Regions from separate parts of the Homo sapiens genome. Here region 2 is linked to region 1. Evidence: promoter capture Hi-C in human tissues and cell types (Jung and others, 2019). All regions are on one chromosome and are shown on one strand. Each heading gives the region's core, a stretch centred on a gene start or on the middle of the fragment in contact. The rest is flanking DNA. Distances are from core to core; before and after follow the strand shown. Region 1 holds the start of SEC13 (SEC13 homolog, nuclear pore and COPII component). Region 2 overlaps LHFPL4 (LHFPL tetraspan subfamily member 4).

The links. Contacts are between HindIII fragments. The study calls those that stand out against the background at their distance.
Region 2: a contact is called between a fragment that was not itself captured here and the fragment with the promoter of SEC13 in region 1, in 1 of the 25 tissues and cell types used here (lymphoblastoid cells).

Annotation. Positions count from the first base shown.
Region 1 is chr3:10,319,682-10,322,878 of GRCh38, forward strand. SEC13 (SEC13 homolog, nuclear pore and COPII component) reads right to left here and starts at 1,431. Exons shown (of 9, transcript NM_183352.3): 1 at 1,369-1,431. The coding sequence starts at 1,371. RefSeq lists enhancers at 1,097-1,396, 1,144-1,739 and a silencer at 1,587-1,666. The HindIII fragment of the contact is 24,307 bases long and covers 1-3,197 here.
Region 2 is chr3:9,498,653-9,501,849 of GRCh38, forward strand. It overlaps LHFPL4 (LHFPL tetraspan subfamily member 4), which reads right to left. Exons shown (of 4, transcript NM_198560.3): 4 at 1-3,197. Among named protein-coding and RNA genes, the nearest start is that of LHFPL4, 54 kb to the right of the region's middle. RefSeq lists an enhancer at 2,674-3,197. The HindIII fragment of the contact is 7,926 bases long and covers 1-3,197 here.

The DNA of each region.
Region 1 (3,197 bases), core at 181-2,680:
AAAGGACCTTAGAAATAATCAGCATTTAATTCTAACCACTCTCACCCACCAGTCAGGGTTGATGAACCACACTTCTGAATGAGAGAGAGAGAGAGAGAGAGAGAGAGAGAGAGAAGGCGGGGGGGGGGGGGGGGGAGGAAAGAGGGAGGGGGAGAGAAAAGGACGGAAGGAAGGAGGAAGGGCGGGAGAGAAAGGGAGAGGGAGAGGAAGGGGGGAGGAAGAGGGAGCGGGGAGAGAGAGAGAGAAGAGAGGGAGGGGGAGAGAGAGAAAGGGAGAGGGAGAGGAAGGGGGGAGGGAGAGGGAGTGGGGAGAGAGGGAGGGTGGGGAGAGAGAGAGAGAGAGAGAGAACTTCTTAGAGTACTTCTTCCCAGGGACCTGGTATTATCTGGTCCCTGTTAACACCTGCACTCAAAATAATTCACCTCTTTGAGATCAGATAATGAGTTAAAAATTCATTTAGGATGAGCTGAATGTCAGAGCATAAAAGCCTCAACTCTAACCTGCAGTGGAAGAGCCAGAGGTGAGTGATTTACACCTAACCCTCTGCAGAACAAGAACACAGTGTTCTGATTTCTAGGTTCCTGCAGGTTCCCTCAAACCTGCTGCTGAGACACACCCATGTTTCTAAAAGAATGCATGTACTAGATATTCCAGGCTCAGCCCAGATACTTCCATTCTTTAGTTCTCCTTCAGTCATTCATTCACTCAAGGAGTAAGTGTGGAGTGAATGTACACTGCAGATGCCACAGAGACTTAAAAAACCCTGAGCCCCTGCCTTCGGAGGGTCGTTCAGGCCATCTTTACGTTTCCCGAGGTGCCCATCCTACCTGGGGGCCCTACCCCGAGCAACAGTTCAATCATCTCTGCTGGGAGCTGCAGTAGGCGGCAGAAAGGAATGGTTAGGAGGGTTCAAATCTCGGCTCTACTACCACTTAAGCAGCTGTGCAAGAGGCTCCACGTCTCCGAACCTCAAGTGTCCTCATCTGTAAAGTGTTGAGAAGAATAGCACCTTCTTCACAAGGCTGTTAGCAGGCGGAGATTACGAACAATGCTGAGGGCTCGGTATACAGTAGCTCCTCTGCTGTTCCTCGTTTTGTTTTCAATTGTTGACCGAAAAGAAGGAAGGGAGACTGGCAGGAGACGCAGGAGCGGCGCGCCCCGCAAAGTCAGGGAGGTTCCTCGGCCTCACCTCTGGACTCCCCTCGGAATGGTCCGCAAGGACGGGGCCAGAGCCCCCCAAATCTCTAAGCGGTGGAGGGGAGCTGAACGGCTCCAGCTTGGGATTTGGGACTCAGGACGGCCGAGGAACCCGTGAAGGCCGCGACCGTGGCCTTCACCCTGCTAGGCCTCCTCAGTACCAACACTCACCATGATTGCGGCGGTGGCTGCTCCAGGTCTCGGACGTGGCAGCTCCCGGCGGCGCCTCGGAACAGCTCACTTCCGGCGCCGGGCCCGACGGGCCGTGGCGTAGGAGCCTCCGGGCAGCAACGCGCTCGGCTCGCACAGCAGTTCCGCGCCTTCCAGAGGGCGCGCCCCGCCCTCCCGTGGCCCAGCCCCTATCCTCCAGTGACGTGCGAGACCAGAGGGCTGGGGCTCTGGTTGCCGCAGTTACCCTGACCCGGAGGGCTTTGGAATCTGAAGCTCTGGTGGGTCTACTCTCCCGACCAAGTCTGCCCTTTTCCTGAGATCCATAAATGAAAGAAAGGATTAATATAACTATCGGCCGGGCGCGGTGGCTCATGCCTGTAATCCCAGAACTTTGGGAGGCTGAGCTGGGGGGTGGATCACCTGAGGTCAGGAGTTCGAGACCAGCCTGGCCAACATGGTGAAACCCCGTCTCTACCAAAAATACAAAAATTAGCCGGGCATAGTGGCGCGCGCCTGTAGTCCCAGCTACAGGCTGAGGCAGGAGAATCGCTGGAACCCGGGAGGTGGAGGTTACAGTGAGCCGTGACTGCACCATTGCACTCCAGCCTGGGCAACAGAGAGACACTCTTGTAAAAAAGAAAAAAATCTATCTATCTATCTATCTATCTATCTATCTATCTATCTATCTATCTATCATCTATCTATCTGCAGCTTCACCCGCCTCACTACGGCTCTGGGTGCGACTGGTCTTATGATGAATGTTGTAGGATGAGTGACATCTTAGGAGTAAGTAGACTGTCCTAGTGCTTCCTTGTTGTAGTCTCCCTCTCAGTACCCAAGGACTGGGACCAGGGCAGAGGAGGCCAGGGAATGCCCCTCGCCAGAGGCTGGGACCTCTGGCCCTGCCATCCCTAACCCCTATATAGGACTGCCCCTTCCAAACCGATCCCCTGGGGTCCTGAGTAAGTCCCATCAAGGAGACCCCCCTAGGCAATGAAGGATCTCAGCCAGGCTCCTGCAGCTAGAGCCCCAGACCTAATCCTCAGGGTCCCCAACCCCAGGTCTCTGGCTTCACAAGGTAGGGCAGCTGAAGGCTCCCCACAAGCGCAGTGAGAATGCCACACTGGAGGACAGAGCCTGGGCTCCCCGCCTCAGCCACATATGGTCTAGCCCTGGGCCCCTTGTGACATTAAGGAGGCAGATGAGCTGGGGGAGGCCTTGGCTCCCCTTGGGCAAGTCACAGTCCTTCAGTTTCCTCTGCTGAAACTGGGAGTAAGGACCCTAGCTGGAGATGGTCACTGCTTGAAGGAAGATGTTAAGGCTCAGAGAATGTGATAGACCCAAACTGTCAAGGAGCTTTGGAGGGGAGGCCAGGGGAGTAGGGTGTTAGAATTAAGGGCCAGGCCTCTGGGCAACTCTTCTACCCCACTGCAGCTTTCAAGATTTTTTATTGCCCTCTAGTGGAGAAATTGTTGCAGGGGTGTGAGGGGGTGGTGGTTAGGTTAGAGCAGGGAACAAAGGCAGGTTTCAGGGGATCTCTTGGATCTCCTGTTGTTTTTTTTGTTTTTTTTTTTTTGGAGATGGACTCTAGCTCTGTTGCCCAGGCTGGAGTCCAGTGGTATGATCTTGGCTCACTGCAACCTCTACCTCCCGGGTTCAAGCAATTCTCCTGCCTCAGCCTCCTGAGTAGCTGGGATTACAGGCATGTGCCACCATGCCTGGCTAATTTTTGTAGTTTTAGTAGAGATGGGGTTTCACCATGTTGGCCAGGCTGGTCTCAAACTCCTGACCTCTGGTGATCTACTCTCCTCGGCCTCTCAAAGTGCTGG
Region 2 (3,197 bases), core at 349-2,848, 820 kb before region 1:
GGGCCTGCAGAAGTTTCTGGTGCTGGGAACATCCCAGCTTCTCCAAAGACAGGGTTTCCCTTTCTCTTTCTCAGTTCACACTGGAAGCTGGAGAAAGGTTATTCCCCGTGTGCCCAAGCAGGATGCTCAAAAGGCCAGGGACTCTCCCCACAGCCTTATCTAAAAGTTCTCATCATCTTGGCTATCAGGCCTGAAAAGGATCTTGATTCTTTGGTCCTCACCCCCTCAGGAAAGTTTTCCTTCATGGGTACCGGTCCCCAAAGACGAAAGTTTTCATAGCCCCGGTTCCCAGAAGGACTCAACTGACCAGACTGTGGGCCAGGGACTGAACCACCCCTAGGCTGTGGCTGCCGTGGCCTCTCCTGAGTCCCCAGATCAGGCAGAGAAAAGCGGGCAATGGCAGACCCCTGATCACAGTTAGGGGGGTCACAGTTAGGGGGGGACTTCTCTTGGGACCTGAAGCCGGAAGGCTCTAGGTTGGAGCCCAACAAGGCCCTCCTGGGGTCAGAAACAGGCACTGATCTCCTCTGCTTACCTCCTCCTGAAGGCTAAAGCCAGATCGCCCGACGAGAGCAGAGGCAAACCACAAAGCCCCCTTCCCATGATGTCTTTATTGCCCCAGGAGGGCCATCAGGGCCTCACCTGGGGCCCCCACTGGAGCACCTGCCACCTGCCCCATCCACACCTCTGCAGAACCCAGGGCCCCAGTCTATGGTTTGGTCCCCACTCTGACTTCTACCCCTTGCCTGTGTCACCCTGGGGTTCCCGCAGACTTCAGCCCACACAACTCTGCCTTCCTGACTCCAAACTCCCTGGTGCATCTCCCCCTGGCTCTGCCAAGATGGCAGCTGGCCAGGTGCGGTGGAATGGGAATGTTGCCAGGCTACCCCACCAGGGAACTAGCCTCCCTCCTCTCCACCCGGCGCTGACCCACTCCTAAGTCAGCTGGACCCACTACGTCCTCTGAAGTGGCTTCCTTCACTCCAGTTCTTCCCAAAAGGATGCGGCCTTGGCTGCCTGTGCCCCGGGCCTCCAGCCTCTGAAAGGTCAGTTCTATCCCCCGCACCAGGGCACAGGTTTGGTGGGTGTCCTTGGGGAACAAGGTGTGGCAAGGACACCTGGTGGCAGGCGTCCTTGGGGGAACAAGCTCTCCCCTCACCCAGTGCCCAGATAGCAACCCCCTCCCCACTGCCCCGCATCCTGGCTCCTTCATCCTCCTCTCCTTCCTCTGCATCCCATTCTTGCCCCCAACCCACATCTCCATTTACCTCTTCCCCGCTCCCGAGTCCTTTTTCCGCCTTTTCATCCATTTCCCCTCCCCCACCCCAAGCTCTCGGGCAGCCTCTCAGCTGGTCTCTCATCTCTCTCCACCTCTGCCCCGTCTCTCTCGATCTCTCCTCCTCGCGCTGTTTCTCTGTGCCTGTGCGTCCCCCTCGCTCCTTCTCCAATCATCTCTCATCTCCCTGTCTCTGCACCCCTCTTCTCCTCACCCCAGTGTCTTCTCCCATTCCCAGTCGCTTGCTGCGCCCCTCCCCTCACTCTCTCCTAACTCTGCTCTCCCCCTCCAACGCTGGGCTTGGTTTGCATCTTTGAGGAACTCCCTCCTACCCCAACTCCCTCCCACGGGGCTCCCGCATCCTCCCGCATTTAACTCGGACCCTCTGTCCCGCAGCGCCCCTACCCCAGGCCGACTGGACTGTCCGGGAAGGCGCCGGCGGGGAAGGGGAGCCCAGCGCTGGGACCAGAGCACTGCGGGGAGGCTTTGCCCGGGAGGAGTAAGTGGAGGAGTGAAGTCGGGACTTGGTAAGTTCCAGGTGGCAGGAACCCACTAGGTCCCAACATCTGATTCCGGCTAGGGTCCAGAGTGGGGAGACAGGCAGGGGACTTCTAGGGTCTTTCTTGGAAACCCTAACTCTCAGGTCCAAGTCCTGTGGAAATGAACACAAGGTTGGCAAACACATGGCGCTCAAGCGACCCTCTCCCCTCCGCCGAGGCCCGAGGCGGCTTCCCCTGGCATCCTGCAGGGCACCGCCCCTTCCCTGCAGGTCCAGGCCGCCAGGAGGGGGCGCTGGACGAAGCCGGTCTGCACCAGCAACTAGTGCTGAGGGAGCTGTCCAGGCCCCAGGGCAGGGAGGCTCCCCGGGAGAGATGGCTCTGCCGCCAGACCCACAGGGGAATGACGGGTGTTCAAAAAATACCAGGAGTCTCCCTCACCTGCTCCCTGCCAAGGGGAAGGGAGACGCCCCCACAGTGGGTGGAGGGGGGAGAAACTTCTCACCTGTCCCCCAACACACACACACACACACACGCTCACACGCGCACACACACGCACACACATTTCACCCACATACACATACACTCATGCCTCGGCTCCAAGCACTGCCCATAGGTGCAGACCCTGGGCATATCGCAAGGCGAGAGGTGGGCCAGGAGGAGGAAGAGGCTGGGACAGGGTAACAAGGCTTAGGAAGGGGGACAGGGGTACCCTGTTCAGAGATGACCTGCAAGTTCAAGTTATGCAGAAAAGTATCAAAGAGACAAGACAGTCTCTGCCCTTGGTAGACGCCTGGGGTATGGAGGGCATGAAAAGGGGCAGAAGGGGTAATGCATCCCCCAACTCCCCACCTCTGGGGTCCCCTCCACACCCCCAACCCTGACAACAGGGCCAAGAAGTCTGTGCTGTACAAAACAGGCCAGGGTCAAGGGTCCAGTCATTGGTGAGACATCCCAGCAGAGAGGAGGCCTGGGCAAAAGAGGCCAAGGTCAAGGGCTCAGTCATCAGTGAGATGTTCCAGCAGAGAGGAAGAGGAGGCCAGGCCAGCCCGGGCTGAGCAGCTTCTAAGCTCCAACTGCCGAGGCCACGTACCCCCTCCCGCTACCTCCAGAGCCTGAAAGTCTTTTCTGACTCTGGGCTGATCAGGGCCCCGGTCTGCAGCTGACAGCAGGGCCCTGTGCATCCCTCGGTGCAGCTCTCCCTCAGGGTGAGCTGGGAGCAGGCCGGAATGGAGCAGAGGAGGTCCCAGGGGAGACTGGTGGCACCTGGAGCTTTGTGGCAGATGTGGTGGAACCAACATCAGCCAAAAAAGAAAAAAAAAAAAAGTAGGAAAGAGTCCAGCCCACCCTGGAGCAGTATCTAGAATAAATTTCTTGAAGAGGCAGGGACCAGAAGAGGTGCGGATACAGCCAGGCGGCAGCCC